5 separate regions of the Homo sapiens genome follow, and regions 2, 3, 4 and 5 are each linked to region 1. The links are contacts of gene promoters, found by promoter capture Hi-C in blood cells and fetal thymus (Javierre and others, 2016). All regions are on one chromosome and are shown on one strand. Each heading gives the region's core, a stretch centred on a gene start or on the middle of the fragment in contact. The rest is flanking DNA. Distances are from core to core; before and after follow the strand shown.

The links. Contacts are between HindIII fragments. The CHiCAGO score rates a contact against its expected background, and 5 or more counts as called.
Region 2: a fragment that was not itself captured here is called in contact with the fragment with the promoter of VEGFC in region 1 in 1 of 17 cell types (endothelial precursors); the score reaches 7.5 in endothelial precursors.
Region 3: a contact is called between a fragment that was not itself captured here and the fragment with the promoter of VEGFC in region 1, in 2 of 17 cell types (megakaryocytes and endothelial precursors). The highest score is 10.0, in megakaryocytes.
Region 4: a fragment that was not itself captured here is called in contact with the fragment with the promoter of VEGFC in region 1 in 2 of 17 cell types (endothelial precursors and megakaryocytes); the score reaches 6.5 in endothelial precursors.
Region 5: a contact is called between a fragment that was not itself captured here and the fragment with the promoter of VEGFC in region 1, in 2 of 17 cell types (megakaryocytes and endothelial precursors). The highest score is 9.2, in megakaryocytes.

The regions. Positions count from the first base shown.
Region 1 is chr4:176,791,629-176,794,240 of GRCh38, forward strand. It overlaps VEGFC (vascular endothelial growth factor C), which reads right to left and starts at 1,294. Exons shown (of 7, transcript NM_005429.5): 1 at 537-1,294. The coding sequence starts at 683. The HindIII fragment of the contact is 3,942 bases long and covers 437-2,612 here.
Region 2 is chr4:177,024,395-177,027,006 of GRCh38, forward strand. No RefSeq gene overlaps it. Among named protein-coding and RNA genes, the nearest start is that of LINC02509, 150 kb to the left of the region's middle. The HindIII fragment of the contact is 2,653 bases long and covers 1-2,612 here.
Region 3 is chr4:176,962,068-176,964,679 of GRCh38, forward strand. No RefSeq gene overlaps it. Among named protein-coding and RNA genes, the nearest start is that of LINC02509, 88 kb to the left of the region's middle. The HindIII fragment of the contact is 971 bases long and covers 835-1,805 here.
Region 4 is chr4:176,941,828-176,944,439 of GRCh38, forward strand. No RefSeq gene overlaps it. Among named protein-coding and RNA genes, the nearest start is that of LINC02509, 67 kb to the left of the region's middle. The HindIII fragment of the contact is 315 bases long and covers 1,165-1,479 here.
Region 5 is chr4:176,922,686-176,925,297 of GRCh38, forward strand. No RefSeq gene overlaps it. Among named protein-coding and RNA genes, the nearest start is that of LINC02509, 48 kb to the left of the region's middle. The HindIII fragment of the contact is 1,355 bases long and covers 650-2,004 here.

The sequences.
Region 1 (2,612 bases), core at 44-2,543:
TCAAGTGAACTCTGAAAGCTCTGGAGCCTGGTTACTAAAGTCCCTGACACTTTTTTTCTAAAGTCGCTCACAGCGCCTGGTGCTCTGCAGACTATGAACACTCCAGGAAAGTAAGGCTGGGTTGACTGATCACCAGTGTCCCAGAATCTGTTTGGAGTCCCATGAATCAGCTGGGGAAAGAAACGAGCATTTCCCGACCAAAATGAACTCATACTCTCCAGAGCCCCGCTGACTGGGCAGGGTTCAAGACCCCTTGGTTGCCCCAGAGGAAACCAGTCTGAAATAGATTTCGGGATCTCTCACTGGGCACCTCTCCGGGCCCTTCACTCGTGTAACTTGCTTGCCTCTCTAGTAACAACTTTCTATTTAAAAAGAAGAAGATTTTTCTCCAAAGCAGCGTGCACTGAGCTCAGTAACTTTGGATCCCACGTACACAAGCTTAAAGCACACACACTTTCCCCCGCGCAGGTTCTCGGGTCCGCCGCAGACCCTAACGCAAACTCTCGGGTTCTCCGCAAACCCTAACGCAGACCTACCGTGGCCTCGCCCGCGTCGGGCTCCGCGTCCGAGAGGTCGAGTCCGGACTCGAAGGCGGCGGCGGCGGCGGGCGCCTCGCGAGGACCCGGGAGCAGCGCAGCGGCGAGCAGAGAACACGCCACAGAGAAGAAGCCCAGCAAGTGCATGGTGGAAGGACCGGGGGTGGGGGACCGGTCCGCTGGCGGGGGCAGGGGTGGGGGCGCGGGCGCCCCTGCGAGGCCGCGGGCCCCTCCTGGTCCCTCTCCCCCGGGCTCCTCCCGGCGACCCCCCCTGGGCGAGCCGGAGGCGGCGGGAGCGGGTCCGGGGCTCCGCGTTCCCAACTTTGCAGGGCGCCCTCCCAGCCAGTGCCGGGGAAAGGCGGCGGGTGTCAGGTAAAAGCCTCACAGGAAACCGGACATCCGAGCTCCCCGCATTCGGAGCCCGCGAGGTGAAGCGAGGGCGAGGGAGGACGCCGCCGCGGTCCGCGTCGGTGTAGCTTTTTGGAGAGGCGGGGCGGGGGACACCAGAACACCCCGCGATGTTCAGCCCCTCCAAACCCGCCAGAGCCCTCGTCCCCCTCCTCCCTCCCCTTCCCCGAAGTGAGAGGAGCCGGGCCGCGGGCGCTGCGGCGGGGGCGCTGGCGGCGGTGCCGGGGGCGGGAGGAGGGCGGCGGGGCGGCTGGCGGCGGCGGGGCCCGGGAGCGCCGCGGCGCAGGATCCTCCAGAGCGCGCCGGGCTGAGCGGCGGCGGCGGCGGCGGCGGGCGCAGGGGCAGGGCATGACTGACGCGCCCTCTGCCTGCGCTTATGTGAGAGAAAGCGGCCGAGGGAGGGAGCGTGCCGAGCCCGGGCTGCCCTCCCCTCTCACTCTCCCTCGGAAGCCGTCTCCCTGGAGCTCCCCGTTTCCCTCGCCTCCTCCCCGGCGGCCCCACCTCCCCCGGCCCCCCTCTGGATCTCTCCCTCCCCGCCCCTGTCCCCTGCGGGGAGCGGGCGGCCGGAGGGGCAAGTTCAGTCCCGGGGCTGGCGGTTGGCGGGACCGGCTTTAGAGGTGATGCGACCACCCTGGACCACGTGCAGCGGGGAGAAACTGGGCACCGTGGGGTGGAGGGAGCCCCCGCTTTATCCTCGGCCACTCCCGAGTTCTTGTCCTCCCTCCCGCACGCCTGGCCCCCAGAGCCCTGCTCAAAGTTTGGAAATGTCCTGGGGGTTGTAAAAGTTCCAAGAAAAGGTCATCACTATGTCAGAGAACCCTATGGGACCTCGGAGGGGTCCCCTCTCTCCCTTGGTCTGTGTAGTTGAAAGTTGCCTGATGATCCAAGAACCGCAGTTCTCAGGATGCAGTGCAGGCTGTTGGGATGGATGCTAATGATCCCTTTGGAATCCTAAACTTCTGACAGGTGAAGAGAAGGGCCAGAATCTTCGTGGAGAGTAAAGAGACACATTGTCAGCTTCTGCAAGAAGTTGGTTTACTTGAAAAAGGGGGTGATAAAGAGAGATGTGTGTGAGACATATTCCAGAAAGGATGTGTAGCATCCAAAGAAAAGTGACTGCATTTCCCCATTGGAAAAGCACTGGGGTTTCCGTTGGGCTGGTGGCATTGGCTAGCTGCCTCCTTGGGGCAGGGTGAGCAGGTTACAGAGGACCACGCTAAGGGGTTTCAACAGTGTACAGAACATCAAAAGTCTGCCTTTCACTCCCAATCTACTTTTAAGTACACAGATGTTATAGGTCCATAATATCTTACCGGAAGAAGAGACTTTCTTATCTGGTTCAACTCTAGATTTGAAACTCCTCACCCATAATTTACTTGAAGGCTTAAATATCTCAAAGGACAGGGAACCTTCCATTCTGTGTGGCTGTTCACTCCCTTTATTGATGAGCAACACTGCTGAAAAGCATTTCCTTCTATCTCTCTATTGCTTTTGACTCCTGGAGTTTTACACAATAAATCTAATCTCACTTCCACAACTGAGTCCTTCAAATATTTTGAAAATATTTATCATGGTCTCCCTAAGCTAACTTTACTCCTGGCTAAATATCCCTTTTATTCCCCAAGATGACAGTTCCAGTTTCCCCCCTTAACCATACTGTTAGCTTTC
Region 2 (2,612 bases), core at 55-2,554, 230 kb after region 1:
ACAGACTTAGAAATCGTTCCTTATCAATTAGTCAAAGTGACTGTGAAGGCACTTTTACAATTTTGGTTCCTTACAATTTGATTCTTATAATGTTATGCCTTAAATTAAGAAGTATTTTTTCATAGAATAAACTTGAAAATATGCTCTAGATTATTTTTATATGCTTTCATGTGCTGAAATTATAATATTACTTTATTTTTATTTTGGGCAATTATTTCTAAAATAATATTTTGCTTATTCAAAATAGACAAGTTTTAATTTGAAACATAACACAATAAATTAGAGAACTGTAATGGTGTCAAGCACCAAAAACATAATGAAAAAATGTGTCAAGACAAGTTATTCTTTAGACTATCAATTAGTTACATTCTTGATGATGTGTCTTCATTTTATTAATATCCTAGAAGTATTTTTATTTTAGTGATATAGAAAAAAATATAAACTTGCTTTTACCTAACTTCATTAGGAATACCTGTGACACTTGAGCTGGTATTTAAGAATATATTATTAAAAATAATTTTACCTAGTTCTTTTCACTTTTTAATGTAGCTGCTAAAAAACTTAAAACTTTATATGTGGTTTTGAATTTGGCTTGCATTATATTTCTATTGAACAATGTTGCTTTAGCCATTGGCAAGAATGAGACTAAATCAACTCCATATTAGCCAGGGATTATAATTAGTTTGATCATCTTTATTAACTCATACTACAGTCCTGTCACTTTATTTTTATGACCAATTTTGCCATTTGTCACTGTAGATAGTGACCATGGCTACATTACTTCCACCAGTATAATTTCTTTTTCTTTTTTTTTAAACTAAATTTTTTAAAACTATTTTAATCCTCTTTTTTTTTTTTTTTTTTTTTTTTTGAGACAGTCTCACTTTATGGTCCAGGCATGAGGCAGTGGCATGATCATGGCTCACCGCAACCTCAACTGCCCAGGCTCAAGCAATCCTCCTGCCTTGATCTCCTGAGTATCTGGGACTACAGGTATGGGCCACGATGCATAAATGACTAAAAGCTAAGTCATTTTCTACAAGTAACACCTGCAAAGCAGTTTGGAAAATTATTCAGTAATGAAATTTCATTGGACCTACAGAGATTTGTTTTAGCTACGTTCACCTTTAATTCGACCATTTAACAACTGCCCTTCCCAGTCATCTATCATCTAACTAATCTTTCTTACAAGAGGATCAAACAACAGTTGATTCCTATCACATTTCTCAGTTTTTCTTCCATCAACTTATATGTATACTCAGAGAAAACATTATTTGGGCCGGGTGCGGTGCCTCACGCCTGTAATCCCAGCACTTTGGGAGGCCAAGGCAGGCAGATCACGAGGTCAGGAATTCAAGACCAGCCTAGCCAATATGGTGAAACCCCATCTCTACTAAAAATACAAAAAGTTAGCTGGGTGTGGTGGCGCGTGCCTGTAGTCCCAGCTACTTGGGCGGCCGAGGCAGAAGAATCACTTGAACCCAGGACGCGGAGGTTGCAGTGAGCTGAGATTGCACCACTGCTCTCCAGCCTGGGCGACAGAGGGAGACTCCGTCTCAGAAAAAAAAAAAAAAAGAAGAAGAAGAAGAAAAAGGAAACATGATTTGGAAGGAGTGATAACATATATTTCATACCTTACTTCTCAATGCTGAGCTCTCATTATAGTTTTAGTCTTTGGGAGAGTTTAAATCTTAACTGTTAGCTTTTAATGATTTAAAGAGATTGTTATGCAATTCGAAATATTATGACCAAGTATTATTATATTCTGCTGTGTAATAAACCACCTTAGAATTTGATAGCTTAAATCAAGTAAAATAGTTTACTTTGCTCATGAATGCACATTTTGGGCAGTGCTCTTTGATGACTCTATGTCTCTGTGCTGCATAGTGTCACCTGGAAAGGAGCTGAAGGATCCACTTCCAAAGTTGCTCAGAAGGAAATGACATTTCCTTCCCATGAGAGCCTCTCTATCTTTCTCCCAGCAGGGCAGATAGGTTTCAGAAATGAGTGTTCCAGGAGGCCTGGGTAGAAGCCATAAGTCTTCTTATGACCTGGCCTCAGACCCACTCCCTTCTATTGGTCAAACAAGTGGCTAAAGCCTGTCTGATCCCAGGAGAAGCAAATAAGAGCTCACCCTCTTAGTGGAAGGAGTAGCAAAGAATTTGTAGTTGTCTATAATCTACCCATAAGTTATTCTGATGTCATTATTTGCCCTTACATCACATGTGATATCAAAGACATTTTTGGCTATGGTAGTGTTTGTATTCCGTAAAATTCTCTGCTCTCTCTAATTGGACTTTGTCTTTAACTGCTCTGCAACTTCCCAGGTGTGAAGAAGCTCAGAGCATAATACACAGAAATGGATTTTCACTTAAGCCAGTCACAATCTGTATTGCCGTCTTCCACCATTCCGATACTAATTAAGTGGAAGGACAAATATTATCCAAAGGAGTCCATACCTGGATATTGTCATCAGGAAATCTTGGCACTAAGAGAGAGAAGGATGGCAAGGGAATTGCAGCAGTCACCAATCTCTAATGTACTAGCATGTCCTCAAACTAGTCTGAAAGAGAGGTTGGTTTAGATAGCAAGAATATTCATCACACAGGAAA
Region 3 (2,612 bases), core at 70-2,569, 170 kb after region 1:
ACCACTATAATATTAAAGCCAAATAAAATAAACAAAAACAAACACAAAACATTATTGAGGTAGGAAGGTTCATTACCTTCTATTTGATAGTTAATAGAACCTGCTATTTTCATAGGTTCTGTTAACCGAAAGGATGCAGAAATTTTAAAGTTCGAGTTTCTAAAATAGCCTAAAAATATAAGGCAAAGAAGGTAGGTATAACTAAAGGAGTAAGTCCCAAACTGACCATAATGGAAATATTTTGCTCCTGTTATTGACAGATAAAACAGAACAAAAAAATAGAAAATATGAAATAAGAGGTAACAAGTGTGACCCACTAGCTATACAGATAAAAATAAAGGTTCTCCCCCATCTTATTCTCAGAATATTCACAAAATTGATCAATACTAGGCCATAAAAGGTCTAAATTTCAGTGAATAGATTATTATACAATATGTGATTTAGAGAAGTAGAAGTAATAATAAACAGGAAGAAAGATAGCATTGCTTTTTCAGCACTCATAACTCAAGGAAAGTATAGCACCAGAATCAACTGCTTCCCTTTGTTTTCTGTTTGTTTTGTTGTTGTGTTATCACATTGTTTCATATATGATGAGAATTTTTTTTAATCCTTCTATTGTTTGTGTATTTCTAACTTTGTTACTTTACCATGCATTTTCCCTCCCAAAGCCCCCCCTCTTAAATCTCATACGGCTTTTCATTTTAAATAATAGAATAAGTATTTAGGAGTTTATAGCATTATATAATATAAACTTCTAAGTTTAGCGTTCCTATGTTTCTAACTTCAAAACAAAGCCAAACAAACAAACAAAAAAATCAAACAAAACAAAGCAAAAGCTTGTTGAGTTAAAGCAGTTACCTGAGTTAGGTAGCAACATAAATAAAGCATTAGTAGATATTTATTTATAACTGAAACCAATAATGAGGAAATTGGAACATTTACAAAAATACAAATTTAAAATCTATACTTACATACTTTTTAGTCTCAGATTCTGAAGTGAATGACAAATTAAAACAAGAAAATTGTGGGGGCATGATACATGATTTCCATGATATATGCTAACACATATTCTATGACTTACTTAACAAAATAGTTTCCTTTGAACAAGATAGTGTTTTAAGTGGAACTGAAGAAGGGTGATTTGTGCTGCTGTGCCTCAATGGAATTGCTGAAAATTACTCTTCTTATCCTTTGTTCCTAACAGTTTTTACTTTACTTTTTCATTGCCAGCTGGAAGGAAAATGGGTCTACAAAAACGACTCTTAGAAGTAAATGAGAATTCATTGAGGAACATTAAGCGTTTTTGGATGGTAATTTGCTTGATTAGTTGCAAACAGCATATGTGTTCATGTTATTCTTAGATTTCTCTTGTGTGTACTTTCAGAACATGTATCTTGTTTTCCATGTGTTTCTTATCCTTATCCTTTCTTCTCCTTGGAAGAAAAAGGTTGCCTATGACAACTAAAGTTATATTTTTAGTTCATTTATATTATTTGCCCAAATATTCCTTTTTCTTCCAGTGTGAAGTGGAATGTAACCAAAATATATGCCTGCATCAGCCAGATGTCATCTTCACTTCTCTCCATTAAAAACTGTAGTTGACTTTTTAAGGATCCATGCCAGAGACCAGAGAATATTTAAGCTAGACTTCAGTTAAAATAATTTATTTTTACTCAATCCAAAGTATCAATCACTTTTCTACATACGCATTAAAAACACTTACACACACACACACACCAACCTGTGGACACACACATATTTACAAGGAAACATTTTTCAAGCATTTTCAACAATTTCAACATTAAAGCTTAATTTTTGAAATCAAGACTATCCAGAAAATCTAAGATATATGTATTCACAAGCAGTTATTACAGTTTAAACCTACTTTGGCTTTTCCTGTTTTTAATCTCAGTTTTTCATAATGAGAATACACACCATCTTTAGTTTAGGGGATATGATTTCAAATTGATTTTATTTTGTTCACATTTAATTATGTTAATAATATTCCCCATTAAAATAGGATCCTATAGATTCTATAAAACTGTAAATTAGAAAATGCATCATCCAGTGACTCATTTGGTAACATATGTAAGATCCTTGTGGTAGTCAGCAAGCTACTTTTCCTCAGTTTCAAATCTTGCCTTCTATATATTGTTTTGGGATGTTGTGGTCGACACTCTACCAATAACATTTTTTTATTTTGCCAGATAGCTCCAGCCCTGCCAGTAGGGGGTGGTAGAGACGGTAGTAGTAGGCTGAAGAAGAACAAAAGGAACTGTTGATTTCTGATTGCTTTCTGTCTTATCAGTCACCCTTCAGGCTGTTCATTCCACTGGCAGTGGCAACATGGCAATTCCCCCATCCCCCATCCCTGCCACATTTTGAGAATCAACCTGAATATGCTTCAGTTGGTGGGCTCTCCTTCCTCTTACAGCTCAATCCCAGCTCCACGGGGCTACTTCTCTAAGCTTCTGAGGGACCAGTATTAGTCCAGCAGGTTCTCTCCCTTGGGATCTGAATCAGCTCTGTAGAGCTCCCCCATCTTTTTTCTTTTCTTTTCTTTTCTTTTCTTTTCTTTTCTTTTCTTTTCTTTTCTTTTCTTTTCTTTCCTT
Region 4 (2,612 bases), core at 72-2,571, 150 kb after region 1:
AGATTCTTGCATACACGTTTTTTTTTCTTATATTACTTCTTTCCCTTTTAAAAATAGTGACTTAAATGACACTACATCGCAGACACTACATGACAGGGGTACAAACAAGTCCCTGGGTCACTTAACAGAAGTCTCAAAATGGGTTGAAAACACCCAAAAAAAGCCAAGAAACCCAGGCAGAACTTTAGTGTTTTTTGGTTTGTTTGTTTGCTTTTGTTTTTATTTTTTGTCTTTTTTGAGGCGCAGTCTTGCTCTGTTGCTCAGGCTGGAGTGCAATGGTGTGATCTTGGCTCACTGCAACCTCTGCCTCCCGGGTTCAAGCAATTGTCCTGCCTCAGCCTCCCAAGTAGCTGAATTACAGGTGCCGGCCAACATGCCCGACTAAGTTTTGTATTTTTAGTAGAGACATGTTTCACCATGTTGGCCAGGATGGTCTTGAACTCCTGACCTCAGGTGATCTGCCTGCCTCGGCCTCCCAAAGCGTTGAAATTACAGGCATGGGCCACCACACCCAGCCTAGATTTTCATATTAACAAAATTAGAAAAATATTTTCAGCATTAGAGTTTACATTCATCTCACTGTGTTTCTGCCTGGATTCCCTTTTATTGAACTAAATCACCCTCTATTGACTCAGTACGTAAATCCTTTAAAGACTTTTGACAATTATGTTCTCCTAGAAGTCTTTAGCCAAGGACTGCATACTTTATTTCTTTCCTCTCACTATATAAATCAATCCCTCCAGACTCTTAATTGTATTTGCTGTTCTTTTTTGAACTCCTTCCAGTTCCTCAGAGTTTGTAAATAGAAAAAGAGAAAAAGAGCTCTATCTCAAAGTGATTTCCAGTTCAGGTACACTTTCTTGCTTCGTAATATGATGGGCCACCCAGATGATTTTTAGTTTTTCCCCCTGAATCCTCATAACATTTCAGTTTCATCTAATTTACTGTGATTTGAGTGCTTTCCAATTGTTTCTCTTCCATTGAATGTCTGTTTCTGATTATTTTTCTACAGAGATGTTCCTTCACATTATTTCAAGTTGAATCTCATTTTCTTATTTTTTCACCATGCTTCAAACTTCTTTAGGCTTTTTTTTTTTCTAATTTTCCATCTGTCTGGGTGCTCAGTGTCCCTCTATATTGAGAAACCTTTGCACATTTTATCAAAGCTTCATTAATTCCTGATATTCTATGAAGATATTTTTAAAAGACCAAACATGAGGCAAGTTATCATGTGCAGTCATTCTCAGTTAGCATCCTCTTCTCCTGATGTGTTGTTTGCCAGCATTCAATCACTCTACAATTTCAAGTCATTCTAAAACAATAACAAACATGAGACTATTAAGTTCTCACCCTCCTCCTTTTTCTCCTCTTTAATTTTTAATGTAGTCCTTTAGCCCCTAGGATTTCTTTCTATCTGTGAATCTTGGGGCTTATCCAAATAAAGTTGGGTCCATGATGATTTGTTAATAAATATCGCTAAGCTTCTGATTACATTTCTGAATATTCAGCCATGCTCCACTGGAGCCTGCAGGGATTTCGGCCATACTGAAATAGAAAACATTCCTTAGAGAGCCAAGGTGTTCAGTGAGAAATGTCAAAGCTTCTATACCAATGATTTTCCCATGATCCACACTCTCATTTTGTAAATTAATCTGAGAGCACTAAGATTTTTTTTTCCCACAGAAACCAGGGAACTCCCCTTTTGTAGAGAAAATAAGACGTAGACATATAAAGAATACCTTCATATATAAACGGTATCATAGTTCTGGACAGAATCTCAAATGGTATGCAGACCAGCTCACTATCTTCAGATAGAAACTTACCTTTTTGATTCAATCATGTGAATATTATTTTCAAAACTTACCATCACAAAGTACTGTGCCTCTTGAGAGTTAAAAAAAAAAAGATCCTGTCCTCTAGGAACTTACAGTCCATCCTGACTAACCAAAATACCCCACAGTCCCGAGGAAAGAGTAAATGAAAGCCAAGATGACCTCGCTCAGAGGTACAGAGGGCAAGGCAGCAGAAAGGAGATCACTATTCTGAGTGCTCTTGCATCTCGTTGTTTGTCACAAAACACTTTCCTCACTTGAATGTAAGACATGAAAAATGTTCTGCATTCACCATGCATGAGGGTGTTTTTGTCGCTATGATATGGGAAAGGATAAAAGAGTTCAGTAGTTCTTGAGTTTGTGTGTGATTGACTCTTAAGACTCATAAAATAGCCTCTTTCATCAGAAAAATGGTGATATACAAATTTCTAAAATATTGCATGCAATTTTAGGAAACCATTGTGTGCTGTTTTTCTATTTCTGCCATAAGAAATGACCACACACTTAGTGGCTTACAACAACACAAATTTATGATGTTACAGTTCTGCGGGGAGAAGAGGAAAGGTCTCACCAGACATAAACCTCAGTGGGAGCAGGGCTGTGTTCCCTGCTATAGGCCCTTGGGGAGAATCCATCTCCTTGCTCATTCAGGTGTTAGCAAAATCCATGCAGTGGTAGGACTGAGTCTGTGCCCTTGCTGGCTGTCAGATGGACCACTCTCAGCTCCCACAGGCATCTTTTTGGTCCATGCACATAGTTTCCTTTACATCCCCAAACCAG
Region 5 (2,612 bases), core at 77-2,576, 130 kb after region 1:
AACTGATTAGAGTCATACTATAAAGAAATTGAAAGGGGGTAAGAAACAAATGGGTAAATGAAAAGTGTTATTTGCTGCTAATAAGAATTGACACGACTCTTCTCAGCTCTTCACTACCTCACATTTTAGAATCATTACCAAAAAGTTCTTTCCCTCAATAACCTTATTGCTATCAACTTTGAAAAAAATCAGGAAACTATGAGGATATAAAATATATCAGATAACACACTTGCTATTTATTTATTTATTATTTTTGAGGCAGAGTCTCCTCCTGTCACCGAGGCTGGAGTGCAGTGGTAAGATCTCTGATCATTGCATCCTCCACCTCCCGGGTGGAAGCGATTCTGCTGCCTCAGTCTCCTGAGTAGCCGGTGGCACGTGCCACCATGCCCGGCTAATTTTTGTATTTTTAGTAGAAACGGGGTTTTTGCCATGTTGACAAGGCTGGTCTCAAACTCCTGGCATCACACACTTGCAATTTAGAGGAGACTTTTCTACTTTCTAATAAAGTAATATTGATATGTATAAAAGTGTTTATTTGTTCATAGATATCTTTAGGAAATCGTGGTAACATTGTTGCTATGTGCCAGGTATGATCATGGCAAGTCACTTAATCTTTTTCTTCTCCGTTGATAAATTGATAAACTAAAGCTTATAATAGGAGCAACCTCATAAATGTGTTATACAAATTAAATGTATGAATGCATGCAATGCCCTTTCAAAAGAGCTCAGGAGCAAAGTAAGAACTCAATAATGGTAGAGATTTTTATTATGATTAAAATTAATATTTGTTAGGAGAAACAAGAGGATTTAAATAATGATAGGACAATAAACACTGGGGACTTCTAGAAGGGGTGGTGGGGTGAGGAAAGGCTTGAAAAGCTAACTATTAGGTACTATGCTCACTACCTGGGTGATGGGATTAATCCCGCCCCAACCCCACCATCATGAAATATACCCATGTAACAAACCTGCACATGTACCCCCCTGAATCTAAAATAAAAGTTGACATTATTTAAAAAAATGAAAAAATAAATAAATATCTATCGGTAAAGTGCTCTGGGCATTCAAAGGAGGAAGAGATTCTTTCTTCCAAATGTCACTGGAATGCCTCCCTCCTTCCTCCATTATTATCTCAGAAGGTCGCTTACCTGCTGAAGAGCTTGAGTTTATGGTTACACAGACCCTTAGGTCCTTAGGTCCACTCATAAAGAATCCTTCAGCAAGCTAATTGATCTCTTCGAGACCTGACTTCTTATAGCAATATATATAAAATGTCTGGTACAAAATCAGTAATCCATGCATATCGATTTCTCATTAAAAGGCCCATTTTAATAGAATATGAGGCTGATTGAATGCTGTTTGGGGGTGTTAGGAGAAAAGAAGTCCTGAAAAATCAGAGAGAATTTGCTCAGATGAAAATAATTCAGTTGAATTTATTAAAAGAAACAGTAAATTGGAGAAAATAATAAGGATTATTCAAAACATATTAGTCATGTTTAGTGACCTAAAAAATGTTAGTACTGTATGTGTAATCTATGATGAGAAAAATGTCAAACTTTGGAGTCTTCAGTGTTTTCAATGATCACTCTGATTTTCATTTTTAAAATTATTTCAATATGTATGTATGACCTTTTGTGAAAATACTCCCACAGGGATTAGGAATGCTGATTATTTTTCTGTTTGTGACCATTAAGAAGGGAAATGACTATTTCAGACCAGGAAAAGCAACCAAGTTCATGATGATGACTGTACAGTGTAGTATTATCGATTGATCGATCGATCGATTGATCTATCTATCTAATCAATCTATCTATCTAATGTGTGTATGTATATATATGGCTTATATATCTATATGGTTTATATATATGATTATATATCTATATGGTTTATATATATATGGTGTGTGTGTATACATATATATATAAACCCCTCCACACAGTGACTTTTAGTAAAACGAAGTCTTTTGTTAGTGAGAATTTTTTTCAAATTATAAGAGAAGTAAGCTTTTGAAAATTCAGTGATAGCACAGTAAAATGAAAAAAAAATTGACAATAACAGAAAAGCTCAGGGAAATAATAAAAATATATTAGTAAAATATTTACAGTGTAATATAAATACACTATTTTATGTTTTTATATACTTTATAAACTTATTTATATATTTTATACATATTTTATATTACATATAAATAATATATATTTATATAAGTGTATGATTTTATATATGATTATATATAAAATATATAATTATATATATACATTCATATATTATACTACTTTATTTATTTCTATATCCTTTATATAGTTGATTTATGTTTATATATTTTATATTCTATATGCTTATTTTACTATTTTGCTCTTTTTTTTTTTTTTAGTCTCCTTAAACACTGTTAACCTTTCAGATCATTGTTATATTATCTCAAACTCATGGAATTCTAGTCTATGAACTGGCTAAGCTTATTCACTCAAGTGCCAGATTGTCTAGGTTTTAATTCCATGTCTGCCATTTACAGCTTGTGTGATCTTGAGCAAGTTATGTAACATCTCTGCACCTCAGTTTCACATTCGAAAACTGGAATAACAATAATGCTTAGCTCACAGAGTTGTTTT